Linked DNA regions of Homo sapiens: region 2 is linked to region 1. The links are contacts of gene promoters, found by promoter capture Hi-C in blood cells and fetal thymus (Javierre and others, 2016). All regions are on one chromosome and are shown on one strand. The core of a region is centred on a gene start or on the middle of the fragment in contact, and the rest is flanking DNA. Distances in the headings are between cores, read along the strand shown. Region 1 holds the start of XPO6 (exportin 6). Region 2 holds the start of FUS (FUS RNA binding protein).

Evidence for each region. The method cuts DNA at HindIII sites, captures the fragments that hold promoters and counts their contacts. A CHiCAGO score of 5 or more calls a contact.
Region 2: a contact is called between the fragment with the promoter of FUS here and the fragment with the promoter of XPO6 in region 1, in 1 of 17 cell types (fetal thymus). The highest score is 9.3, in fetal thymus.

What each region holds. Positions count from the first base shown.
Region 1 is chr16:28,205,625-28,213,342 of GRCh38, reverse strand. It overlaps XPO6 (exportin 6), which reads left to right and starts at 1,378. Exons shown (of 24, transcript NM_015171.4): 1 at 1,378-1,977. The coding sequence starts at 1,975. RefSeq lists silencers at 1,141-1,630, 4,141-4,435 and an enhancer at 1,260-2,258. The HindIII fragment of the contact is 3,886 bases long and covers 414-4,299 here.
Region 2 is chr16:31,176,654-31,183,382 of GRCh38, reverse strand. FUS (FUS RNA binding protein) reads right to left here and starts at 3,244. Exons shown (of 15, transcript NM_004960.4): 1 at 3,156-3,244; 2 at 961-985; 3 at 719-870. The coding sequence starts at 3,168. RefSeq lists enhancers at 1,969-2,018, 2,119-2,178, 2,209-2,298, 1,724-2,484, 2,485-3,246 and 5 more and silencers at 2,529-2,578, 2,699-2,848, 3,489-3,558. The HindIII fragment of the contact is 6,651 bases long and covers 1-3,268 here.

The DNA of each region.
Region 1 (7,718 bases), core at 129-2,628:
GGGAGGGCTCACGCCTGTAATCCCAGCACTTTGGGAGGCCGAGGCTGGCGGATCACCTGAGGTCGGGAGTTCAAGACCAGCCTGGCCACTATGGTGAAACTCCGTTTCTACTAAAAATAAAAAAAATAGCCGGGCATCATGGTGGGTGCCTGTAGTCCCAGCTACTCGAGAGGCTGAGGCAGGATAATCGTTTGAACCCGGGAGGCGGAAGTTGCAGTGAGCTGAGATTGCACCATTGCACTCCAGCCTGGGCGACAAAGCGAGACTCCGTCTCAAACAACAACAACAACAAACTACACTCTAGTCTGGGCGACAGAGCAAGACCCTGTCTTAAAAACAAACAAACAAACAAGGAAACCCCATTTGTAACTGCCACTAATTGGACTATACTTCTGGTGGGCCATCTTCAAGCTTCGGGCTTGAATAAACCCTATACTTAAATACTATTTTCTCAATCTCGTTATTTAAGGTTGACAAGGGCCATTGGGTTACATAGATTTGCTCCAATCTATGTAGTAGGCACACCCGCGGGCTCAACCTCAGCTGTTTGGGATAGTTTCCTGACTGTTTCTTAAAATTAGCACTTTCAGCCTGGCTGGATGACTCATACCTGTAATCCCAGCACTTTGGAAGGCTGAGGCAGGAAAGCTGCTTGAGCCCAGGAGTTCCAGACCAGCCCAAGCATCAAAAGGAGGCCTCACCTCTGCAAAAAATAAAAAAATTTAGCTGGGCATGGTGGCGCACCAGGAGGTTGAGGCTGCAGTGAGCCATGATTGTGTTACCGCACTCCAGCCTGGGCAACAGAGCAAGAACCTGTCCCCAAAAATAAAACAAAATAAAGATGAGCACTTTCACGAGTAAAGTGGATTGGAGGATGGGAACAGGAATCCAACACATTCTCTGCCTCTCTCAGCACCTTGGCTATCGAAGTTACGTTTATCTCCCCTGTCCTAGCATCCACAGCAGGGCCTGGAATATAGTCGGGCAAGAGTGTGTGGACTGCATGAATGTAAGCTCCATAGGGCCGCGTGTCGTCACGCTGCCAGCTCGATGCTCCGCCCGTAAAAGGCACTCACTAAAATTTTAGCGGAATGAATGGGCGAAAAAAGCGAAAGGGAAACCACGCCTTTACTAAAATGGCAGCCCGGGCTCCCTTTACCAAGATGGCTGCCGGCCCGCGTGGACGCACGGGCGGTGGGCGCAGGGGGCGGGGCAAGAGAGGGCGTGGTAAGAAGGCGGGGCCAGTGGGAGCCGTCAGGTGCAGCCCCGCCCTCCGCCCTCCGCCCGCTCCCCCCGCTCGCCCCGCTCGATTCCGGATTGGTCCGGTTCCAGCGCCGCAGCCCGGCGGCCGCGCTGTGGGGCCGCCCGGCGCTCGCCACTTCCGGCGCGTTGGGGCTGTTGGTCGGGGGCGGCCGCGCGGTACTAGCGGGCGGCTCCAGGGCGGGCGCGCGCAAGGATGCTCTAGGGGGCGGCGGCAGTGGCCGTGTGGGTTGAGGCTGCGAGGACAGCGCGGGCCCCCGGGCCTCTCCCCTGAGCCGGCCGCCTGGGCCGCGCGGTCGAGGCCTGTCAGCCTCCGCCCGTTCAGCCTCGGGGCCGGGGCCGCCGCCACCTCTGCCCGCGGAGGCCGGGGAGCCCCTGCCTGGGCCCGCAGCCTCCCCCGCGGGGGTCGGGCCCGGGCGGGGGTCCCGAGCAGCTGCCCTCCTCGCCGGCATCCGAGCCTCATTTCCTGCTTTTTCAGTTTCCTTGGGGAGGGGCGGGTGGGTCTGGATGAATTGTCTCGGGGTCCCCCGATGAGGCGACCCGGGCGGCCCTGCCCTTTTTAGAGGGTCCCCTCGGGGCCCGGTGGGGAAGGGGTTGTCTTTGCATGGGTGGGGGACTTCCCGAGTCTGCCGGGACCATGACCTGAACTGTGCGAGCGGGACGTGTCCGAAGCCCAAGAACCAGCTCATCTGAGCCGCCCCCTCCCCGGCCAGCATGGTAAGTGGAATTGGAGCCCCCTTCCCTCCTGGGGTGCCCTACCGGAAGGGTGGGAATGGGCCCCGGGGCTGCTGAGCCATCGCTGCTCTCCCCATGGCGGGGAGAGGCGCGTGCGGAGCCTGGCCGGTGACACATGCGTGCAGAGTGTGCAGCCCCGGCCCTGCGCTCCCATCCCCCCAGGGATGATGGCTCAGGCCTGGGAGGGCCCTGGGAGCGCAGCAGGCACAACCCTTGCATCTGGTGTTTGCCTCCTGCAGCTCCTCCGGATAATAACTATCGTTTATTGAGGGCTTACTACTTGCCAAGGCCCTGCGCGAAGTGATTGACAGTGCAGTAGTATTTAATGATCACACCAGCCCTCTGTTCGGAAGTGGGGAGACTGAGGCACGGAGCAATTAATTCCCCAGCTCAAGGTCAAGCGACTTTTTAACAGTGTTAAGATTTGAACCTAGGCATCTGACTTTGAACCTAGGCATCTCTAATACACTTAGAGAGCTGGGTGATTGTAGGAGAAACATCTCATCTAGCTGTAGGTTTATATATGAGGAAACAGAGCGATTTACAGAGGTCACTTGCACAGGTGATGGCAAAGTCAGGAATGGTCGTGATCTTTTGACACTGAGGCTGCTATTCTACATGCTCTGATCTCTGCTGAAGCTACCTTCCACGTTTTCTAGACCGATACTTTCAATACTCCCCTAAATGTGTGTACTCACATCTCTTTGTGTATCCACATCTCCACGTTTTCTAGACCGATACTTTCAATACTCCCCTAAATGTGTGTACCCACATCTCTTTGTTAAGCATTTGCCTTTTTGCTCTTGTAATTATTTCTGAGCCTTATCTGTCTATTGCGGTATACACAGCTCCTTCAAAGACCAAATTGTTTGAACCCTTATCTGCTCCAGCTCCTGGCACATAGTAAGCCCTTGGTAAGTACTGGATCACCTAGCCTGTGGTTGAGCACCTCGAGGAGTGGAGCTGTTCTCCTCAGTTTCACCCATTTTACCCCTGCCAAGTTAGTGGTATAATAGAGAAAGGGACATAGCTGCATCTTTTGTGATACAGACCTTAAGGCCTGTGGAATTTTCGAAACATTCAAGGGGCCTGTGGGTAGTGTGTAGGTCCTGAGATATGGAGCTTACAACCAGCTGGGTAAAGTACACCATTAATGCTGAGCAGCACCGTACAGTATATGCTATACGTATAGTGTATGTGTTTTATTTTTATTTGTTTTGAGACAGGGTCTTGCTTTGTTTCCTAGGCTGGAGTGCAGTGGCACGTTCATGGCTCACTGCAGCCTCGACCTCCTGGGCTCAAGCAGTCCTCCCACCTTAGCCTCCCAAGTAGCTGGGGCTGCAGGCAAGTGCCACCATGCCTGGCTAATTTTTTGTGGAGATGAGGTCTCACCACGTTCCCCAGGCTGGTCTTGAACCTGAGCTCAAGTGATCCGTCCTCCTCAGCCTCCCAAAGTGCTGGGATTACAGGCGTGAGCCACCGTGCACAGCTGAGTCTATGTATTTTAACATATATATTACACAGTATGAATTGTGGCAAATCAGTTAAGCTCTCAGTTCCAATTTCCTCAACTATGAAATTTGGGGATAGGATTTCTCTAAAGAGTAATCTAGAGGTATGAGGTATAACATTTAGTGGCTAATGAAAGTAGCACTCATTCCTTCCTTCATTTATTCTTTCAGTAATGCTTTTTTTTTTTTTTTTTTTGAGATGGAGTTCAGCTGTTGTTGCCCAGGCTGGAGTGCAGTGGTGCAGTCTCAGCTCACGGCAACTTCTGCCTCCCGGGTTCAAGTGATTCTCCTGCCTCAGCCTCCCGAGTAGCTGGGATTATAGGCATGCGCCACCATGCCCGGCTAAATTTTGTATTTTTAGTAGAGATGGGGTTTCACCATGTTGGTCAGGCTGGTCTTGAATTCCTGACCTCAGGTGATCCACCCGCCTCGGCCTCCCAAAGTGCTGAGATTACATGCATGAGCCATCGCGCCCGGCCTCAATATACTTAAGTTTTGTTTTTTAATTGTAGTAAAATATACATAATTAAAATTAGCCATTTTAACCATTTTTAAGTGTACAGTTTAGTGAAATTAAGAACATTCACATTGTTGTGCAACGATCACCACCATATATCTCCAAAGGTTTTTTCCCAAAACAACCTGTACCCGTCTTTTTTCAGTCTCTCCCCTGCCCTACTTTAGTTTCTATTTCTATGAATTTGACTACTTTAGGTAGCTCATGTAAGTGGAGTCATGAAGTATTTGGCCTGTTGTGACTGCCTTATTTCACATGGCACAGTGTTCTCAAGCTTCATCCGTGTGGTGGCGTGTGTCAGAGCTTCCTTCCTTTTGAAAGCTGAATTCCATTGTGAGTATGTGCTGCATTTCATATATCCTTTCATCCTTCGGTGGATACCTGGGTTGCTTCCACCCTTTGGCTATTGTGAATAATACTGCTGTGAATATGGGTGTACAAATCTTACAAGTGAATTTTCAGTAGCCACCACCATATACCAGGGCCTAGGGCATGTACAGATGAACAAGACACACATTCCTCCCCTTGGGAAACTTACAGCATTGCTTTAGGACCCTTGGACAGAATTTTGTTATTGACTGAGCTAGCCCAGCACCCTTGTATTGAGGTTTCATTTTAATTGGCAGTCAGTAGAGCATCATGGGAATGACCACCTTTGAGTAATGAATTGTAAAGTAGTTGGCTTCATGAACTCCATGTGCATTTTTTCTGAGGTACGTTGCAAGTCAAAGTTTTTGTCACCTAGACCTCAGTTATTTAAGTACACAGGGGGTGGCCATAGTTGATGTGAATAGGATTGTCCTTTTTGTGTCACTGACACAGTGGTTCATCTGTAGGTATCCCAGGGTCAGGGGCTTGGGTAGGGTAGGCCCTGTCCCCCAAAGGTAAGGAAACTGTTGCCTGGCTGGTGTCTTACAGGCGGAGGGTCTTTTCCCTGGGATCCCAGCTCTTTATTCCAGGAAATTATTTCCTCTCCATTTCTTGCTGACTTAACATTTTTACTTTTAAGGGTATTAGTTGGCATAAGTTTGAGCCCTTTTAACATCTTCTTTTTAAATCTTCAACTCTAATAAGACTTGAAAGTGGCGTAATGTGATAAAAACTACCACTTATTAAGCATCTTTGATGTGCTAGCTATTCTTCACTCATTACTTGTTTTTTCTTTCTTTTTTTTGAGACGGAGTCTCGCTCTGTCACCCAGGCTGGAGTGTAGTGGCATGATCTTGGATCACTGCAACCTCTGCCTCCTGGATTCAAATGATTCTCCAGCCTCAGCCTCCTGAGTAGCTGGGATTACAGGCACGCCCAGCTAGTTTTTTTTTTTGTTTTGTATTTTTAGTAGAAATGGGGTTTCACCAGGTTGGCCAGGCTGGTCTCGAACTCCTGACCTCAGGTGATCCACTCGCCTTGGCCTCCCAAAGTTCTGGTATTATAGGCGTGAGCCACTGCGCCTGGCCAAGTTTTTCTCTTAGTCATTCAGTATCAGTAAACCCCACCAACTCTGCTAGGTTCCACTATGGCTGTTCCTGCCAGAGCGGGAGATGGACAGACCTGCTCTGTGATTCCTAGTTGACAAGTGGTGGAGTTGGCATTTAGACCCAAAGTGCTGTACTCCGGAGCCTGTGCTCTTTGGGTGCTGCCTCATGGGAAGGAAGATCAGGAGAGTCTTCCACCTGTATGTTGTTTGGCTTAGAGATAGATAGTGGTGGAGCATAGGGAGTATGGGGAATTTTGTTTACACTATCCCTGTTGACCTTCACATTTAGAACCAGTTTAAAAAGATTTATAGTTGCAGTATAGAATTACAGGAAGAGCTAGCATACTATAACTGTATTTGATTAAATCATTTTTTGTTGCATTCCCATGGATTCTTAAGTGGTGTGACATGTTAGAGGTTCCCACTACTTTGCTGAGAAATTATTACTTAGTATTGAGCGAGCTGTTGCTTAATATGAAAATTGTGTGCAAAATTGAGTTTTTGCTTATATTAGCATTTCTTTTTTAGTTGCTTAGAAATTGAATTGCCTGCTAAGGTTTGTTTTCTTTCTTTCTTTCTTTCCTTTTTTTTTTTTGAGATGGCATCTTGCTTTTGCACCCAGGCTGGAGTGCAGTGGTACGATCTTGGCTTACTGCAACCTCTGCCTCCCAGGTTCAAGCAATTCTCCTGCCTCAGCCTCCTGAGTAGCTGAGATTACAGGCACCCACCACCATACCCGGCTAATTTTTGTGTTTTTTAGTAGAGATGGGGTTTCACCACGTTGGTCAGGCTGGTCTCGAACTCCAGACCTCAGATGATCTGCCCACCTTGGCCTCCCAAAGTGCTAGGATTACAGGTGGGAGCCACCACACCTAGCCTTATTTTTTTAATATCAGTTACCGTGAGTGGCCCCTGTAATGGAGGCAGAATCAGAACTGAAATTTAGCCACTCACATGGCATGTCATCCACTTGTTCATCCACAGCATTGCATTGTACCCCATGCTCTCAGAGGTACAAAGAAGACATGGGGGTGCAGGGAGATGGCAGGGAAAGGTTCAGCAGTACCCAGAGGTTTTGTATGTCAGTCACAGCATTAGAGAAAGTCTGGAGAAAAAGTTACCTGTCAAGAAATGACTTGAATAGCTTCTGAAAAAATTAGTATATGATATGGTTCAAATCACCTGATAAAACCAAAATGTGGTCAGCAAAATTAATGTAGTATAAAGAAATAGGTAGATTAAGCCAGAGTTTTTGTTATTGGTTTTTATATTTATTATATATTTATTTATTTTTTGAGACAGGGTCTTGCTCTGTTGTCCAGGCTGGGGCGCAGCAGCACAGTCACAGCTCATAGTGACCTCGATCTCCTGGTCTCAAGGCAATCCTCCCACCTCAGCCTCCTCAGTAGCTGAGACTACAGGCCCATGCCACCATGCCCAGCTAATTTTTTTATTTTTATTTTTTGTAGAGAGTGGGGATTGCTATGTTGTCCAGCCTGGTCTTGAACTTCTGATCTCAAGCAGTCCTCTTGCCTCAGCCTCCCAAAGTGCTAGGATCACAGGCGCGAGCCACCACACCAGGCCAAATAATCATGAAATAATGTATTGACTTCCTGCTATGAAGTTTACAACCCTAGGTACTGTGGTTACAATCTAACAATATAATAGTTAATATGTGTGTGTGTGTGTGTGTGTGTGTGTGTATTGCTTTCTATATGCCAGGCATCTTACATCTATGAACCTATGAACCCATTTACTGTCCCAAACAACTCTAGGAGGTAGAGGCAGTTTTTTTTTTTTTTTTTTTGAGACAGTCTTGCTCTGTCGCCTAGGCTGGAGTGCAGTGGCGTGATCTCAGCTCACTGCAGTCTCTACCTCCTGGGTTCAAGCGATTCTCCTGCCTCAGCCTCCCGAGTAGCTGGGACTACAGGTGCGCACCACCATGCCTGAATAATTTTTGTATTTTTAGTAGAGATGGGGTTTCACTATGTTGGCCAGGCTGGTCTTGAACTCCTGACCTCACATGATCCACCCGTCTGGGCCTCCCGAAGTGCTGGGATTACAGGCGTGAACCACCATGCCTGGCTTAAAGGCAGCTTTCATTTCATGTTTTATAGCTGACATTCAGTGCACTGAGAGGTTAGGCAACTTCCCAAGGTCACACAGCGAGTCACTGCTCATAACCGTTACACTTCCAGGGTAATATTTAATACTGCCC
Region 2 (6,729 bases), core at 1,995-4,494, 3.0 Mb before region 1:
GCTGATGGAAAATAAGAAGAGTCAAAAAAATTAAAAGCCAAAGAAAATAAATGGAAACAGAATCACAAACCAATAAACATTTTTGTTTTTTGTTTTTTTTTTTATGTTTTTGAGATGGGGCCTCAACACACTGCCCAGGCTGGAATGCAGTGGCTGTTCACAGGCACCATCATAGCTCACTGCAGCCCCAAACTCCTGAATTCAAGGGATCCTCCCGCCTCAGCCTCCTCAGTAGCTGGGACTACAGGTGTGCCACAATGCCCTGTAAAGGACTCAGATCCCAAAAAGTTTTAAGACTTATACACTGTTTCACGGAAAAGAAATATGGAACAGTTTCAACATCTCAGTGCTGCTCAGGTTTAAGAAAAGCAACATTCAGGGCATTGTGGCTGACGCCTGTAATCCCAGCACTTTGGCAGGTCAAGGCAGGCAGGAGGTCAGGAGTTCCAGACCAGCCTGTCCAACACGGTGAAACCCCATCTCTACTAAAAACACAAAATTAGCCAGGCGTGGTAGCAGGTACCTGTAATCCCAGCTACTCAGGAGGCTGAGGCAGGAGAATCGTTTGAACCCGGTAGGCTGATGTTGCAGTGAGCTGAGACAGCACCACTGCACTCCAGCCTGGGCAACAGGACCAGACTCCGTCTCCAAAAAACAAGAAAAAGAAAAGCAATATTCAGAAAGAGTAGGAAGAGGTGACCCGCTGAGAAAGACTCACTGTTCTGGCTCTGGCCATAAGAAGAATAGCTGCTCTGGCCATAGCCTGAAGTGTCCGTGGACTGGCTATAACCACTGTAACTCTGCTGTCCGTAGGGCTGACTGCTCTGCTGGGAATAGCCCTGCCCGGGCTGGGTGGGGTAGGCCCCATAGCTAAATAAAAGGAAAACCAGCGTGATCAGAAAACATGGCGTGACCACCCTTGCCCTCTACAAACTCTGGAAGCCCAAAAATAGCACTCACCTTTGGGTTGCTTGTTGGGTATAATCTGCAAAAGAAAAATACAATCACATTATCTTCAGCTGCCACTCTGAAAGAGTTGAATTAAAGCTAAATTCCTTAACTCAAGCACTGATGAATAAAAAGGACCACGTAGGCCAGGCACGGTGGATCATGCCTGTAATCCCAGCAGTTTGGGAGGCCGAGGTGGGTGGATCACTTGAGGTCAGGAATTCGAGACTGGCCTGACCAACATGGTGAAGCCCCATCTCTAATAAAAATACAAAAAATTAGCCGGGCATGGTGGCGCACGCCTGTAATCCCAGCTACTCGGGAGGTGAAGCAGGAGAATCGCTTGAACCCGGGAGGCAGAGGTTGCAGTGAGCCATTGCACTCCAGCCTGGCAACAGAGCAAGACTCCATCTCAAAAAAAAAAATAAAAATAGGACCATGTTGCAACAAAGGGCATAAAATTCCTCCATGAGACACTGGTTGAGAAGAGGAACAAACTGGCGTTATCAGCCAAGTGTTCTTACAATAAAGAAAAAGTGAAGAAAATGCAAGTTTCTACAGAGTCCCAGAAGCCTTAACCATTGGAAAAACCAAGGTCTTGGTGGACATCCACAATTTTCTGCAAGCCCAATTCATGTCAGTGATTGCTCTAAAACATCGCGCATTCGTTTCATCCACTCTATGAGAAAGCCATTATCGCCAGGAGTCAAGAGACTAACTCTCCCAACGTCGCAGAACTACCAAAGTGGCACAGGTTTGAATTCGAACAGTGTTCAGATTGTGGCCTCTGCTCTCTCAGCCCAGACCCACAGAATAAGAAAGTCTCAAAAAAGGCCATTCTTCACTCTTTGACCAATCCCGGAGATGAAGTGGGCTTTTTAGTGCAAAGCCAGAGAATCAAAAGAGCCCTTGGACCCCAAATGACAGAGATCATGCAACTGCTCGCCTTAGGAGGCGAAAGTCAACAGGTACTCGAGTCCCCAGCCCTGGGACTCCAGATGGTTCCGTTTTCTCACCTACCCTGCCTTCCCCCAGCGAACAAAAAGCAACAAAAGCGCTTTTGAAAAGCCCCACTTAAGATACACGAACAAGATCAACTCATCCTCCCAGCACAGGAAACGCGGCGCTTCCCCCGCAGGAAAAGGGAAAGAGGACCAGGAGAGGGTGTGGCCTCGGGCGGCCGTTCTTCTCCGTCCCTATCTCAGAAAAAAGAAATTTAGACCAGGCGTGGTTGGCTTACGTCTGTAATCCCGACACTTCGGGAGGCCCAGGCGGGCGGATCACCTGAGGTCAGCAGTTCGAGACCAGCCTGACCAACATGGTGAAACCCCGCCCCTACTAAGAAACACAAAAATTAGCCGGGCTGTGGTGGCGGGCGCCTATAATCCCAACTACTCAGGAGGCTGAGGCAGAAGAATCACTTGAACCCAGGAGGTGGACGTTGCAGTGATCTGAGATCGCACCACTGCACTCCAGCCTGGGCGACAGAGGAAGACCGTGTCTCCAAAAAAAAAAAGAAAGAAATTTAGGCGGGAAAAACTCTCGGGCCGTCCCCAAGTCCGTTGGTCGAACCCTGACCACCGCCGCCAAACCGTTAAGCTAGAGGGCGGCCCCGATCCCGAGCCTCCGCCCCCAGCCGCGTGGCAACCCAGGCGGGAACGGAGCGATCCCGCCCATTCGCGAAGGACCACTGAGGGACAAGGCTCACACCGGACGCGCGCCGCCGAGTCTTCCGCGAAGGGTCTCGCGACAGAAAGCTGAACCAACACGAGGCGGGGAAGGGGTACCCGCGCCGCGAAGGGGGAGGGGCCCGCAGAGCGCGTGCGCGCCGCGAGTGCCCGGATGCAGCACTGCGACAAAGCGGGCTCGAGCGCGGGGCCGGGAGTTGGGGGAGGCGAGGCCACGGAGAATGGGCGTTTTCCACCCTCACCTGACGCTTCAAACCCCTAAGAAGCGTCCCTCCCAACGCCCACCCCAAGCAAACGGACTGCAAAGAAAAGACTTCCCGCCCCGCGCGCGAGGGCCAGAGGAGCGAAACAAAATGGCGACACCAGCCTCCTCCAGTTACTCTTCTCCGCGGCTTCCCGCCACAGGGGCGCCAAAAAATCCCACACGGGATCGCCGCCCCGGTCCCACTGAAAACGAAAAGCCCAGCTGGGAGGCCTCGGCCGGGTGCGCCGCCGCCGTCGCCTCGCGCCCTTACCTACCGTTTGAGGCCATGTCCGCGCACGCGCGCACAGGCAAGCAAGCAACGAAGTTCCAACACCGCTGAGTACCGACGCCTGGAGGACTGAGCAGCCCCGCCTCCTGCGTCGAAGCTTAAGTACGCTCCGCCGCCTACGCACCGCGCAGGCGCGCACCAAACGCGGAAGAGCAGGGGGAGGCAGGAACGCACTCCGCCCCCTTCGTAGGGCAGGTAGAGGGTCCGAGCAGGCAGAAGGGAAACAAGTTAACTAGAATCATGCGAATACTATACATAATCATATTTTTTGAGGAAGAACCCCTCTCTCCTCGGCAGGACTAGCCCACGATCTATCTCCACCCCCATGAAGGCACAGTGGTACGGCCTGAGTGCCCGCTGGGGGCGGGGCGAGGGGGCGGTCCCGGCGGCTGGGGACGAAACTGGAGTCACAGCCGGGAGTAGCGGGGTGGAACCGAGATTCCTGTGGCCGGGCCCCTTCGCTGGGCCCCGCTTTCACCCAGGATGGCGAGCTCCTGCCCTCCACCCTCTTGCCGCTGTATGGGGCGCCTCGTCCCCGCGGCTCCAGCCTCCCTCGTCGGCAGCACACTGGCCCTCCCTCTCCTGCGCCCTGAGGTTGACTTCGTCGTCTTTCAGGGTTGCCTTGCCTTTCGGCCTTTCTGGGGTTCGGGGATTATGACGTTTGACCTGAAAGACAGCAGGGATTTCGGCCGGGACCCCTGGGCCCCGGGCTCGTCCAGCACTGGGCTCTCACCCGGATCCTCATGGCTTTGCCCCTGGGGAGCCACGGGGCGGAACAGCCCAGGCCATCCTTGGGACCAGAGAGGGTTGACCTCAGATGTACGGTACCCAGCCTTTTCTCAGGGACCTCCTTTTTATTTTTCTGAAGCCCTACCAGGGCGATCCCAGAAATAAAACGTGTACAAGGCTTAAGTGGTTTCAAAATGCACAGATAATTTCCTTGTCATCAGTCTTACGAAGGAAGTAAAGATACCTCCGTTTTCTAGATAAGGAAAGTGAGACTCAGAGACCCAAGTAATTGTGCCTGATTACAGGGCAGCTAAGAGGAGTCGTGATTCGAATCCAGGTCTTGTAACTGCAAAACACTCCTCTTTTTGGTGGCATGAATGCTAGAGTGTTTGGTCGCCTTTTCACTTCCTGTGAGAGCAAAAGCAAAAAGAAACATTCAAATTAACTTGCAACTTGCACTTTCATCAGCCTTGCCTGGAGAAGGCAATTTGAAACTACTGAATAAAACAAGACAAAAGACGTTAATTCCTGATACATAGGCATGCAGGTTTTCCTTCCCAACTTAACCTTTCAGCGGGATTTCAGAAGGTCCTTTGAGGGTTGGACACGTCTTTCTAGAGAAACAATGAGGGCCATGCCCTGGGCCCGCCCACAAATTAAGCCCCACTAAGCCCTTGACTTCAGCCCTAAAGGCCCTGAATATGCCAATATCCACCCCACCGCCTTTGGAAGGAGAGTTCAACTCTCCAGTGAGAGCAAAAGAAAGGAAGTCCACCCTTATTCATGCATTAAGTCACAAATATTTATTTAGCACCTAGTATGTTCCAGGCACTGTTCTGGGCACTGGGTATGCATTCGTGTACAAAGCAGATGAAGTTAACATTTAATAATAAAGCTGACCGGGTGCGGTGGCTCACGCCTGTAATACCAGCACTTTGGGAGGCCGAGGCGTGTGGATCACGAGGTCAGGAGTTCGAGACCAGCCTGGCCAACATGGTGAAACCCCGTCTCTACTAAAAATACAAAAATTAGCCAGGCGTCGTCCGCGCATCTGTAATCCCAGCTACTCAGGAAGCTGAGATGGGAGAATCGCTTGAACCCAGGAGGCGGAAGTTGCAGTGAGCCAAGACGTGCCACTGCACTCCAGCCTGGGCAACAGAGCAAGACTGTCTCAAAACAAATAATAATAATAAAGCTGACATTTAATAATGATATACATTGTGCTCATCTATAATATGTAATAGCTAACACTTTAACAAGACTTACTGTCAGGCCCTGTTCTGACTGAGTAAACTCTTGATTTTATTTTTCACAACAAAAGGCTGATGTGAGGATGACATTTTATCTTTTTTTTTTTTGGGGGGACACTGTCTCACTCTGTCACCCAGGCTGGAGTGCAGGGGCGCCGTCTCGGCTCACTGCAACATGTGCCTCCCGCGTTCAAGTGATTCTACAACTTCAACCTCCCAAGTAGCTGGGAGTACAGGTGTGCGCCACCACACCCAGCTAATGTTTGTATTCTTAGTAGAGACGGGGTTTCACCATGTTGGCCAGGCTGGTCTCGAACTCCTGGCCTCAGATGATCCATCTGCCTTGGCCTCCCAAATTGCTGGAATTACAGGTGTGAGCCACCACGCCCTGCTAAGGATGACATTTTACAGATGAGGAAATAAGCATAGAAAGACAGGCAGTTGACCGGGCACGGTGGCTCACGCCTGTAATCCCAGCACTTTGGGAGGCCAAGGAGGGCAGATCACAACGTCAGGAGTTCGAGACCAGCCTGACCAACATGGTGAAACCCCGTCTCTACTAAAAATACAAACATTAGCCAGGCATAGTGGCGCGCACCTGTAGTCCCAGCTACTCAGGAGGCTGAGGCAGGAGAATTGCTTGAACCCCGGAGGCAGAGGTTGCAGTGAGCCGAGATCGCGCCACTGCACTGCAGCCTGGATGATAGAGTAGAGCAAGACTCTGTCTCTAAAAAAAAAGAAAGACGGAAAGTTATGCTGAAGCTACACAGGAAGTGGCAAAGCTGGGTTCCCAAGCCAGGTAGCCTGCTCTTAACCCCTGCGCTTCAGCAAACATTGCCTGAGCACTGCATAGTATGTTCCAATCATGGGGCCGACTGGATGGATATGGATAAAAAAAAGCTCAGTTCCTAAACCACAGGACCAGCCAGTGGGTGAATGTGGGTGAGACACACAGACCACAAAGTGTACTTGAGTGTAGTAAGTGCCATCACATGGAATCAAAGACTGGAAACCCTGCCAGCAGAGTAAGTCATCCATCAGGTGGACAACCACAGAACACTAAAGAGAGATGGTAACCCTGAAGCCAAGGCTTACTGGATAAGTAGAAGTTTGCCAAGCAGCAAGGGAGGAAAGGCTATAATAGGCAGAACCGCGAAGACAAAGGCACAAGTGGGGAAGACACTGAGGCAGAGTTCAGGCTCCAGCTGTGACTCTGGGCTGGGCATGGTGGCAGATGAGACTCGGCCTCAAAAAAAAAAAAATATGTGACTCTGAAAGACTAAATCAAATGGCCATTTCTTTCTTTCTTTTTTTTTTTTTTTTGAGATGGAGTCTCACTCTGTCACCCAGGCTGGAGTGCAGTGACGTGATCTCAGCTCACTGCAACCTCTGCCTCCCGGGTTCAAGCAATTCTTGTGCTGCAGCCTCCCGAGTAGCTGAGATTACAGGCATGCATCACCATGTCCAGCTAATTTTCCTATTTTTAGTAGAGACGGGGTTTCACCATATTGCCCAGGCTGTTCTCGAACTCCTGATCTCAAGTGATCCACCTGCCTCGAATGTTTTAATTTTTTTAACTAG